Linked DNA regions of Homo sapiens: all the other regions are linked to region 3. Evidence: promoter capture Hi-C in 16 types of primary human blood cells and fetal thymus (Javierre and others, 2016). All regions are on one chromosome and are shown on one strand. Each heading gives the region's core, a stretch centred on a gene start or on the middle of the fragment in contact. The rest is flanking DNA. Distances are from core to core; before and after follow the strand shown. Region 1 has its middle 9.2 kb from the start of PNMA5. Region 2 has its middle 28 kb from the start of PNMA3. Region 3 holds the start of BGN (biglycan).

Evidence for each region. Contacts are between HindIII fragments. The CHiCAGO score rates a contact against its expected background, and 5 or more counts as called.
Region 1: a contact is called between a fragment that was not itself captured here and the fragment with the promoter of BGN in region 3, in 2 of 17 cell types (M0 macrophages and total CD8 T cells). The highest score is 6.5, in M0 macrophages.
Region 2: a fragment that was not itself captured here is called in contact with the fragment with the promoter of BGN in region 3 in 1 of 17 cell types (M0 macrophages); the score reaches 5.4 in M0 macrophages.

Annotation. Positions count from the first base shown.
Region 1 is chrX:153,001,396-153,005,271 of GRCh38, forward strand. No RefSeq gene overlaps it. Among named protein-coding and RNA genes, the nearest start is that of PNMA5, 9.2 kb to the left of the region's middle. The HindIII fragment of the contact is 2,358 bases long and covers 1,397-3,754 here.
Region 2 is chrX:153,026,485-153,030,355 of GRCh38, forward strand. It overlaps the pseudogene LOC112268308. Among named protein-coding and RNA genes, the nearest start is that of PNMA3, 28 kb to the right of the region's middle. The HindIII fragment of the contact is 1,319 bases long and covers 1,207-2,525 here.
Region 3 is chrX:153,492,915-153,497,220 of GRCh38, forward strand. BGN (biglycan) reads left to right here and starts at 2,066. Exons shown (of 8, transcript NM_001711.6): 1 at 2,066-2,199. It also overlaps a transcript of HAUS7 not described here. The HindIII fragment of the contact is 11,109 bases long and covers 728-4,306 here.

The DNA.
Region 1 (3,876 bases), core at 1,326-3,825, 490 kb before region 3:
TTACTGTGGCAATTAACTTAGTTAACACGTCCTGTCCCAACGAAGGGACTGGGCATTCTGGCATGTGCAAGATCCTGATAGGATCCAAATCATGAGAGTCAAGCTCATTGCAAGCATTAAAGAGATTGAATTTTAGCAGTCCTGAGGAAAGGGGTCTCAAAGTAGTGTAGCTTTAATAAATTTCAGGAAATGTGACAGAGGCCAAATGAAAACTCATCTGAAAGTTTTTGGAGATAATTTTTGAAGCCTCCTGGCAATGTCAACTGAGATAGATCCTGAGGCCCCTGAGAACCTCAGATTAATTAACATAACTTTTATTAGTCAAAGCACTCCTGGCATTCAGAAAAAGCTATAAAAATTAGAAAGTGTTTTTGGAATGTCTATCTCTTAACTGTATAGATTGCTTTTAAGGTGTTCAAAAACTGAGATCAAGCATTGGATCATAAAGAGCAACAGAGGATGGAAAAACAGGCATCTTTGTTGGTTGCTGCTCTGTTCACAGCACTTGAAGTAAAGAAGCCCAATGAGAAGGTAGACACCCCTGGAAACAAGAAAGGCCTCCAGAAAGGCGATCCATAGATGGGGCCCAAGCATTGTGCATATTGTAAACAAGAGGACCATTGGAAAAGGACTTCCTGAGTTTAAAAAGGCAATCCCAGGGGAAAGAAGAAAAGGCTTTACTTTTGTCAGAGGTATCCAAGAGAGTGATGGGGTCTCAGGGGGTACAATAGGTGGATGAGGCTGCATCCCCATCTCCTGCCTGGAACCCTGGGTAACTCTTTGGTGGGAAAAAGACAAGTTGATTTCTTGATTGATATTGGAGCCACGTACTCCTTCCTTGACATGGTTTGGCTCTGTGTCCCCACCTAAATCTCATCTTGTAGCTCCCATATTTCCCATGTGTTGTGGGAAGGACCTGGTGGGAAATAATTGAATCATGGGGTTTTCCCTGCACAAGCTCTCTCTCTCTTTGCCTGCTGCCATCTCTTTGCCTGCTGCCATCCATGTAAGACGTGACTTGCTCCTCTTTGCCTTCTGCCATGATTGTGAGGCTTCCCCAGCCATGTGCAATAGTAAATCCATTAAACCTCTTTCTTTTGTAAATTGCCCAGTCTTGGGTATGTCTTCATCAGCAGCATGAAAACAGACTAATACAGTCCTAAATATCAAAATAACAAAATTGTCACCCAATACTATGACTATCATGGGGTGTCTGGAACACTTATGAAAAAGTCCTTTTTACAACCTATGGACTACCAAGTGGGCACAGTCAAACTAAAGCATAGTTTCTTGTACATGCCAGAATGCCCAATCCCTTCACTGGGACAGGACTTGTTAACTAAGTTAATTGCCACAGTAACCTTTGCTTTGGGAAAATTGAGGTGCCACCAGAACAAGCTTGTGCACTCCCAAATGCCCTTTATGACCACAGAGCAGAAAAACACACCATCAATATTATGGAGAACATCTTAAAGCAGATAAGCCCAGATGCTTGGGCTGATGGGAGGCTGGGAAGGGCTAAGACTGCTTGTGTTAAGGCCATTCTTGCATTGCTATAAAGAAATACCTGAGACTAGGTATTTATAAAGAAATGAGCTTTAATGGGCTCAGTGTTCTGCAGGTTGTACAGGAAGCATAGTGCTGGCATTTGCTCAGCTTCTGGGGAGGCCTCAGGGAGCTTTTACTCATGATGGAAGGCAAAGCAGGAGCAGGCACATCATATGGCAAAAGCAGGAGCAAGAGAGAGATGGAGGAGAGAGGGTGCCACACAATTTTAAACAACCAGATCTTGTGAGAACTCACTATCATGAGGACAGCACCAAGCCATGAGAGATCCACCCCCATGATCCAAACCTTTCCCATCAGGCCCAACCTTCAACATTGGGGATTGTATCTCAACATGAGATTTGGAGGGCATGTCCAAACTATGTCATTCTCCCCTGCCCCCACAAATCTCATGTCCTTCTCATACTGTGAAATACAATAATCTCATCCCAATAGTCCTCCAAAGTCTTAACACATTCCAGCATTAATGAAACTGCCTTTGCAAAATTATAACTGAAGAAATTATGACAGTGAAAGAAATCAGACCTAACCAACCCCATATTGCTTCTAACCTTTGTCCTTGTTCATTACTGGGCATAGGCCAAACTAACTTTGGGAAGGAATTCAATTTATGGTTTGACTCTGAAACAAAATTGATAACAGACATTTTCCAAAAAGACCCCATTCTTGCCTGGGGACAAGTATGCCTTTGCAGGACTAACAAATTAGATAGAAGATTAGAAATTACATTTTAGGGGACAGGTAGCCTCTGGCTACTAGAGTCTGAACCTCCCCAAATTGCTCCTGAGGATAACATCAATGCTGTAAAACCTAAGATCAGTGCTTGAGGTATTTTGCAGCCCCTGCGCTTGATGGATCAGCTGACACCACCTAGACCAGTAATCTGGCTCAATCAGTTCTTCCATCCCATCCAGGAATAGAAAACAGCAAGAAAAACTCACTTCAACTCTCCATGATTCCATGTCCATCCTGACCAATCAGCACTTCCCACTTCTCAAGCCCCTACCCACCAAATTATCTTTAAAAACTCTGATCCCCGAATAGTCGGGGAGACTTATTTGAGTAATAATAAAACTTTAGTCTCCTGCATAGCTGGCTCTGTGTGAATTACTTTCTCCATTGCAATTCCCCTGTCTTGATAAATAAGCTGTGTCTAGGCAGCAGGCAAGGTGAACCCCTTGGGCGGTTGCACAACTCAAAAGTCCCAAGTCCCCAGTCCAAAGTCTTATCTGGAAATAAGTTCTTTCCACCTAGAAGCCTGTAAAATCAAAATGGGTTATTTACTTCCAAGATACAATGGAGATACAAGCACTGGGTAAACATTCTCATTCCAAAAGAAAGGTGCTACAGGCGCCACCCAAGTCTGAAACTCAGCAGGGCAGTCATTGAATCTTAAAACTTCAAAACAGTCTCCTTTGACTCCATGTCTCACATCCAGGGCATGCTTCTGCAGGGGATGGGCTCCCAGGGCCTTGGGCAGCTCTGACCCTGTGGCTTTGCAGGGCTCAGCTTCTGAGCCTGCTCTCACAAGCTGGCATTGAGTACCTGTAACTTTTCCTGGTGCAGAGTGCAAGCTGCTAGTGGATCTACCATTCTGGCATTTGGAGGACAGTGAACTCTTCCCACAGCTCCACTACCCAGTGCCCCATTGGAGACTCTGTGGGCGGTGCTTAAACCCTACATTTTCCCCCTGCACTGCCCTAGTGGAGGTTCTCTGTGAGGGCTCCACCCCTGCAGGAAGTGTCTGGCTGGAGACCCAGGCTTTTCCATGCATCTTCTGAAATCTAAGCGGAGGCTGTCAAGCCTTCTTCACCCTTATACTCTGTACACCTGCAGGCTTAACACCATGTTGAAACTGCCAAGGCTTATGGCTTGTGCCCTCTGGAGTGGAGGCCCAAACTGTACTTGGGCCCATTTGAGCTGGAGCTAGAGCCAGAGCAGCTGGGATGCAAGGAGCAGTGTCACAAGGCTGAGCAGGGCAGTGGCATCCCAGGCCTGACCCTTGAAACCATTCTTCCCTCCTAAGCCTTTTGGCCTGTGATGGGAGGGGCTGCCTCAGAGATCTCCGAAATGCCTTCAAGGTCTTTCCCCCATTGTCTTGGCTATCAGGACATTGTTTGCTTTTAATCAGGCTAATATCTCTAGAAAGTGGTTACACCACAGCCTTCTTGGATTCTTCCCCTGAAAAAGCTTTTTCTTTCTTTGCCAGATGGCTAGGCTGCAAATTTTCCAAACTTTATGCTCTGCTTCTTCTATAAATATAATTCCCAACTTTAAGTTATTTCTTTGTTCCTGCATCTGCGCATAGGC
Region 2 (3,871 bases), core at 616-3,115, 470 kb before region 3:
CTGGGTGACAGAGCAAGACTCCATCTCTCTCTCTCTCTCTCCCTCCCTCTCTCCCTCTCTCTCTCTACTCTCTCTCTCTCTCTCTATATATATATAGAGAGAGATTTATATATATATTTTTATATACGTATATATATGTGTGTGTATATATATGTGTATATATATGTGTATATGTGTGTATATGTATATGTATATATATGTGTGTATATATATGTGTATATATATGTGTATATGTGTGTATATGTATATGTATATATATGTGTGTATATATATGTGTATATATATGTGTATATGTGTGTATATGTATATGTATATATGTGTGTATATATATATAAATCTACTACAAGAGTTCACAGGCAAGTCCCTCACCTACACTTTGTCACATGTGGTCTGCTTCTGCCCCTCGTACCCTTACTCTCTTACTCTTCCTGTTGTTCCTATTGGTGGCTGGGGAAGTGACGTGAGGGCAGTGGTGCCTGTGCAGCAGTGCTCAAGGATGCATCAAGGGTTCACTCTCAGGAAACTCCCAAAGCTGCTGGCCAGATGGGTAGCCAGTCCTAGACATGGCAGAGACTGGCTGAGTTTCCCAAATGCCTCTCTTGACCAAGGCCTGCAGAAACAGAAAGTCATATTTTCACATTGGCCAATCCTTGCATTCCTCAGGAAAATGGTTCCAATGTTCCCACTCACATCCTGCTTTTTCTCAGAGCTCAGACCTGGGACCACTGAGCTGGCTGCCACAACCAGCCTCCAATACCCACACCATTCTTGGCCACACCACCCTTTTTCATTCCTGTGCCCTTGTGGTTATTTACTGAAGGCTTACCGTGTGTCTAATAGAAGGTAAAGCTCCATGACTCCCCTGCAAGAAAAATGTTCTTATTGCTCATTTACAGATGAGAAACAGAGATGTTCAGTGGTTTGTGCAAAGCCACCCAGCTGCTAGGTGAAGCCAGCTTTGCCTGCTTCCAAAGGCCGTACACACTCTTTCCAATGCAATGGCTTCCTAGGTGGTGAAGGCTGGCTTTGTAGCCTAAGAACTATGATGAGGCTCTTGAGTCAGGAACAGCTAGCCTCTTCCTGTTGTGGAGATTCCTGCAATGAGGAGGTAGGCCTGTGAATGTAGTGATTTGGGGGACCTAGTCTGGAGTCCTAGTACCTGGCTGTCCACCAACTCCCAGCTTCCAGACGCTGCCCCTAAGCATAAGCTTCCTCTCTGCCAGTTTCCAATCCCCTTTCTCTCTCAACACTTCCACTAGGCCATTTTGATGGTTGGGCCTGTTGCCCCCGGAGGCACATCAAGCCCTTACCGCGCAGGTCCCGATCCCAGGGCAACACGGATGCCTCCCCCTGTTTAGCTATTTGCCTCCCACAGAGACTCTGAGATTTTTCTCCCTCATCTATCTGAGGCTTCTGGGAGAAGTTGGAAGCCCACGTGCCCTTAGTACAGCTGGCCTGAGATATCCCTGCCCTGTGCAGTCCCAGATGGGCTGCTGGGGCGCGATCTTCCACCTTCCCATTCCAGGGCCTCAAGGCGGCCTCCAGAGTGGGCTCCACAGCCTGAAGGTGGCATTTCCCCGTGGGTGGTTGCAGTGTCTGCAGACAGTGAGCAGGCACCAGCGGGACCCCAGAGTGGCTGAGGGCACACTGGGCAGGAGCCAGATCGCTGTCCCCCCAGGCAGTAGGTGCGACAGCGGGTCCTGGTCTGGAGCCTGAGGAGAGGGGAGGAGGGTCTCCTTGCTGCAGGAGTCTGGGTGGGGTGAGCTCCTGGCTGCAGGGCACCTCTGGCTACAGAAGGGGACGATGGGAGAGAGAGGGGCTCTGGCTGTGGGGGAAGGGGACTCCTGGCTGCTGATGTGGGAGGCGTGGGAGGGGGTTGCCAGGTTGCAGGGAGGATGGCATTAGGGAGAGGGCTCCTGGTCAAGTGCTGGGAAAAAGAGGAGGTGGGCACATCCAGCTGCAGGGTTGCACATGATGGTTGGAGGGGCTCCAGCTGTAAGTTTTGTGATCAGGGGCTGTTCACCAGGTGAAAGAGGCGCTTCCTGCTGTGGAGGTGGGGGGTGCAGTGAAGGACTCTGAGCTGCAGCAGTAGGGGTGGGGGAGCATGGGCTGTGACACTGGGCAGGGGAGATGCTTCAGGCCCTGCATTTGGGAGTGGCTGGTCTCTGGCTGTGCGGTGGGGGTGGGCTGACTGGCAGCAACGTCCCTCTCTCCCCTTTGCACTCACAGGCTGCGTCAGAGACTGCAACAGTCAGCACACATTCCTGTCTGATCAGGCTCCCTCCCTCAAGTCCTCTGCGATGGCTCTGGCGATGCTTCGGGACTGGTGCAGGAGGATGGGTGTGAACGCAGAGCGCTCTCTGCTCATCCTGGATATCCCTGACGACTGCGAGGAACATGAGTTCCAGGAGGCCGTGCGGGCTGCCCTGTCGCCCCTGGGCAGGTACCGAGTGCTCATCAAGGTCTTCAGAAAGGAGCTCGGGGCCAGGGCAGCCTTGGTGGAATTCGCTGAGGGTTTAAACCAAAGCTTGATTCCCCGCCAAATAGCAGGCAAAGGGGGACCCTGGAAAGTGATCTCCCTGCCCCAGGCCCTTGATGCTGAGTTTCAGGATATACCCAGTTTCCCTGCATAGCCCCAGGGGCAAGCAGTGGCCAGAGGTGCAGGTGAGGCAGGAGCTGCAGGTGAGGCAGGATCTGTAGGTGAGGCAGGAGGTGTGAATGAGGAAAGATCTGCAGGTGAGGCAGGAGCTGCAGGTGAGGAAGAAGAGGCAGGTGATGGAGGAGCTGCAGGTGCAGCAGGAGCCATAGGTGAAACAGGAGCTGTGGGTAAGGGTGAGGCAGAAGCCACAGGTGAGGGAGGATCTGCAAGTGAGGCAGAAGGTGCAGGTGAGGGAGGAGCTGGAGATGAGTTGAGAGTTGCAGAAGAGGCAAGAGAGTCAGATGAGGGAGCCGCAGGTGATACAGGACCTGCAGGTGAGGCAGGAGCTGTGGGTGAGGCAGGAGCTGTGGGTGAGGCAGGAGCTGCGGGTGAGGCAGGAGCTGTGGGTGAGGCAAGAGGGACAAATGTAACAAGAGCCTGGGTCCAGCCTCGGCGCTGCACCCTGCAGGCTGTGCTGGAAAACAGGGCCTACCAGGAACTGAGACCCTTTTCAGGGAGGGAGCAGCCAGGCTGCGAGGAAGAGTCCTTTGAGAGCTGGATGGAGCACGCCAAGGATATGCTGCAGCTGTGGTACCATGCGTCGGAAAGGGAGAGGAAGAGATGGCTGCTGGAGAGCTTGGGTGGCCCAGCCCTGGACGTTGTGAGCGGCCTCCTAGAGGAAGATCCCAACTTGGCGGCACTGGACTGCCAGGCGCTGCTGGACTGCTGGGCAGCGGTGCTGGGGCAGGCGTTTGGAAACCGGGACCCTCGAATGACTTCCAGGCTGAAGTTCCTGACCTGAACGCAGGGGCCCTTTGCCTTCCTGGTATGCCTGGAAGGCCTGCTGCAGATGGCCCTGGAGAAGGGGGCCGTCTGCCCGGCCCTGGCCAACCACCTGTGACTGCGGTAGGTGCAGCCTCAGGCCTGCCCTGGCGAAGCACTCCAGAATACCCTGAGGGGGATGCACTGGAGAGGAGGCCGCCCTACTTCCTGGGGCTGCTTCAGCTCATCCAGGAGATGGAGGCGTGGGCGGCCTCCCCAGTGAGGAGCCAGCATGTTGTGGCCTGGCCAGTGGCCACAGTGGAAAGTGAAGATCCAGTTGCCGCCCAGGCAGCTCCTGCCTGTGGAGATGCTGCTCAGGCCTCCTCAGCCCAGGAAGACGCCAGCCAGGCTGACCCTGGCGTGGAAGATGCTGCTGAGACTGCTCCTGCCACCAAAGAGGCCGCCAGGAGC
Region 3 (4,306 bases), core at 816-3,315:
CAGCTCCTGGGTTCTCAGTCCCCAAGCAGTGCAGGAAGGTACTGGGTACCAGCACCTCGGGCAGCAGGCATGCCTTGAGTGGGTTTCTCCTTTTTTCTGAAACGGCTTTACTGAGAGTGGCTGTGCTTACCACACGATTTGCGCATTGAGCACGTACAAGGCAAGGGCTTTTATATGGTCTATTCACAGAACTGTGCAACCATCACTCAGTCGATTGTAGAACATTTTCATCACCTCAAAAAGAAAACCCATACCTTTAGGTACCACCCCTCTAGCACCCACTGCCCACAAATCCGCTTTCTGTCCCCACAGATGAGCCTAGTGTGGACATTTCAAATGAATGGAACCAGAGGCTCTGCGGCCTTTTGCGACTGGCTGCTGTCACTGAGCGGAATGTTTCCAAATGCTTCTCTCTCCACCCAGACTGCTAGTCAGGCTTCGCTGCCTGTCCCGCTCTCTACCGACATATTTCTCCACGAATGAGTTGGCAGTGGGGGAGGGAAAGAGGGTGGGACAGAGATGAGACCAGGCTGCCAAGAGTCGGACGCTGAGGCTGGGCAAAAGGTAAAACACACAAACCTGCCGAAAGACAAGCCATCTCCTTTGTCTGGAAAGGGCATATGTGGTCTCCAATCTCCTCATTCCAACCATGAAATCAAGAGAGAACCAGGGTTACCAGCCTGGCCCCTGGTTTCCCACGTCTCTCTTCTCCCTGGCCCAGTCTAGAAGCTTCTTGCAGGCAGGTACCACAGTTTGGTCAAGGTGCCATGCGTCCCAGGTCCTAGCCAGGCCCTGGGCTGCCGCTGGTGAACAGGAAGGGGGTCTGTGCCCTGCCATGCCCCCAGGTAGAGCTCCCCTGGGAGCATCCTCCCTGGCCTGGGACCTCCCAGACCCCACCCCCCGGTTGAGTGATGGCACTGCCAGGGGTTGAAGACCCTCAGCCCTCGACGTTGTCCTCTCTCCATTGGATGCCGCCTCTCTCTAGCCACCCCTCTCTCCCTCTCTGCCCCTTCGAGCTTTTTCTCTCAATATGCAATTTTCTCTTTTGGTCTTCCGCACTCTTGGCCCCCAGTTCTATTGCAGATCTGTTTCTCACTCCATCTAAACTCTTACCCCTGTGTCTCAGGAGCTGCTCTTGCTGAGGGAAGAAGGGGACACTACGGGACAGGGGGGCAGTGTCGTACTAAGGACCTGGGCTCTAGCCACTGGAGGAACTGGACTCATTTGGGCCCTCAGGAAGCGGCTGAGTCTTGGTGGGGTAACCCGGTTAGCCCCCGTAAGTGACCAGCACAGGGCTGAGCCCAGAGGAAGTGGCCACCCACAGAGTGGTTCTCATGTCCGAGGGGACCTGCAGGGATTGAGCAAGAAGACTGACTCGCTGGATCCTTCGTCTCTGAATCAGTTCAGGGCAGGCAAGCTGGGGAGCCCCCTGCCCCGTCCTGCCACCACCAGCCGGATCGGGCCCTCTTTTTAAGGGAAGAAAGTCTGGAGTGGAAGGGAGGGCACAGGGCGCCAGGAGCCTACATGAAGTCCTTCCAGAAATCCACAACAGCTACCTCTCTGATCCTGGAGAAACCACCTCCTTGCTTAGGCCCAAGCAGGTTCCTGGCAGGCTCAGGACCAAATTCCAGGGGCCACTCATGGGCCTAGCAGCCCAAGGCCGCCTCCCCCTCGTCTTTCTTCCATCTCTCTTTCCTCTGCCTGGCGAGATGCCAGCCAGCACCTCAGTGTCCCCATCTGGGCAGTGGAAAGTTTGACTCTCTGGGTCCTTGTTTGAGTGAGTGCGAGTGTGTCCGTTCCTTTGCTGTCTGCCCCAGGCGGGGGAGGGGGGGGGAGGTGGTGGGGGCGAGGGGGCGGGGGCTCAGCTAGTCCAGCCGTCTACAAGAAAATTGCTCCCTTTGAAGCTGCCAGGGGGGCCGGGAAGCCTGCCCCCTCCTGCTCGCCCGCCCTCTCCGCCCCACCAGCCCCCTCCCTCCTTTCCTCCCTCCCCGCCCTCTCCCCGCTGTCCCCTCCCCGTCGGCCCGCCTGCCCAGCCTTTAGCCTCCCGCCCGCCGCCTCTGTCTCCCTCTCTCCACAAACTGCCCAGGAGTGAGTAGCTGCTTTCGGTCCGCCGGACACACCGGACAGATAGACGTGCGGACGGCCCACCACCCCAGCCCGCCAACTAGTCAGCCTGCGCCTGGCGCCTCCCCTCTCCAGGTAGGGCTGGCTTCAAGCTGCCTCCTCAGCAACCCAGAGATGCCCCTGGCTCTGCTGCCTCCGCTGTCCCAAGCCCTGGTCCTGCTGTCCCCAGTGCCGCGAGGGTGTCCACAGATTTCCCCGGTGCTCTCTGTAGGCTGCTGATCCACGCCCCTTCATCGCCACCCTGCGGCCCCCTTGGTCCCTGTCAGGCTTCTGCCTCGTCTCGCCGCCCTCCAGGCACCTTTCCCTCACCCCTTCCTCTCCCTCTCCCTTCTGACCTTGCTCTGCTTCATCCACCTCTTGTCTCTCTGCCTCCCGCTCGGGGTCCGTCTTCTTGGCTACCACCCTAGAGCGTGGCTGGGTGACTGGTACCCCAGCTTTGCCAATGGCCCTGTTTCATCATTGCAAGTCCCAGGCGCATGCTCCACTCCCTCAGCCTCGCTCTGCCCAGGCGCCTCCTTGCTCCAGGGCTTGGCGCCTGGCCCGGGTTGGGTCGGATCGGGGAGGACCGCCCAGCGCCCACCGAGCTCAGCACCCAGGAGCAGTCCTCCGCTGCACTGCCTGAGGCCAGTCCTTGGCATGGGCTGAAAGACTTAGTTTCCCAGGCACACCCCAGGCACCCTGCCCAGATGTTCCTCGCTCGCTCACCCCCAGGTTAATGCTCTGCCTCTACATCCTCTGTGAGAAGTCTGGGTCCTGGGAGCCCTGGCTGCAAGGGCCCTGACTGGGGGTGCCTGGGTGGCTCAGCCCTGTCTGTTTCCAGGACCCCCTTGGACTGGGACTCAGAATGGGTGTGGAGGGGAAGGAGAGAAAATCAGGCAACTGTGCCATGCTCCCCAGGGCGGACCTGGCTTGGGGTCCCAGAGGGGCCTGCCAAGGGACCCAGGAGAGGGAGCGAGAGAGTGCCCTGGAAGGCCCACGGAGGGGAGCGCCCCCTCACTGCTCCATGGGCGGGGCTGGGTGCCTGAGCGCCTGCTGAGCAGAGCAGGGGGCCCAGGGATCTGCAGGGCACAGGGTACATCAGTCTCCAGTGGTCTGTCTTGGTGGGCAGGCCTCTCTCCTGCTGTCCTGGCTGCCAGACTGCTCAGGTCCCATCCTCAGGGGGTCCTGTTTCTGGGCCCTCGCCCCTCCCTGGCCTGCCAGCTCTCTGCCCTATAGCAACTAATTGGAACTGAGACAAGCTGGAGATGCTCAGCCCCCCTGCCCCCGTGCCAGAAAGGCTCCCGGGGACCAGCGCCCAGGGGTGCGGGTGAGCACCTCCTGGTGACACCCAGCCGCCGGTGCCAGCCGCACCCCAGGAGAGCTGGTGTATGAGCATGGATGTCTTGGTGCGGAGCATGCCCATGTATGGCCACTGTGGGCCAGCATGGTGAGCCTTTGAGGGCAAGCCCGTGTGGGTATATTGAAAGGAAGATGCAGGGCTGCCTCCAAGCCACCAGGGCTGGGCGGTGGGAGCAGGTTGCGAGCCAGGGAGCAGAGAGGGCTCCCATGGCAAGCTGGCCAGCTGTGGGTGGCAGCCCTGGCCTCCCTGGCCCACCTTCAAGCCCCAAGGACCCGTACGGCAGTGGGCATTAACCCTACCAACGCATAGATGGGGAGTCTGGGAAAGGAAGGGGGGTGTTTCCAAGGCAAGAATGAGTTTCCTGTCTTTAGCAACATTCCAGAGTCACTCAAACAAAGCTATAGCGTGTCCCTTCCAGTGACAGCGCCAAGTCCCCAGAGGAGGGGTTTGTAATGAGTTCACACTTGACAGTTAGCACTCAGAGCCTTCAGCAAGGGCTTCTGAGTCCTTGCCACCCCGTATAGAGGTGGGATGAGGACCTCCCCACCTGCCGTCTCCTGTGCTTCCCGGGCCCACCCCCCACCCCCCACCCCCCAGCATCTCCAGCCTGCCCGGGAGTCACATGTCCTCGGCCCACAGAATCCCCAGCACACGCCCCACCCACAGGCCTAGCCCCAGCCCTGGGGTCCCTGGCACCCCACCTGCCAGGGCCCCTCCCCTGCCTTGCTCACCCCCCAACACCCCTGCTTGTCGGAAATGTCTTCCCATGCCCACCACGACCCCCTCCCACTCATCTGTGGGCCGGAGAGCTTGGTCCCTGCCGCACGTTGCCCCCCTAGCATC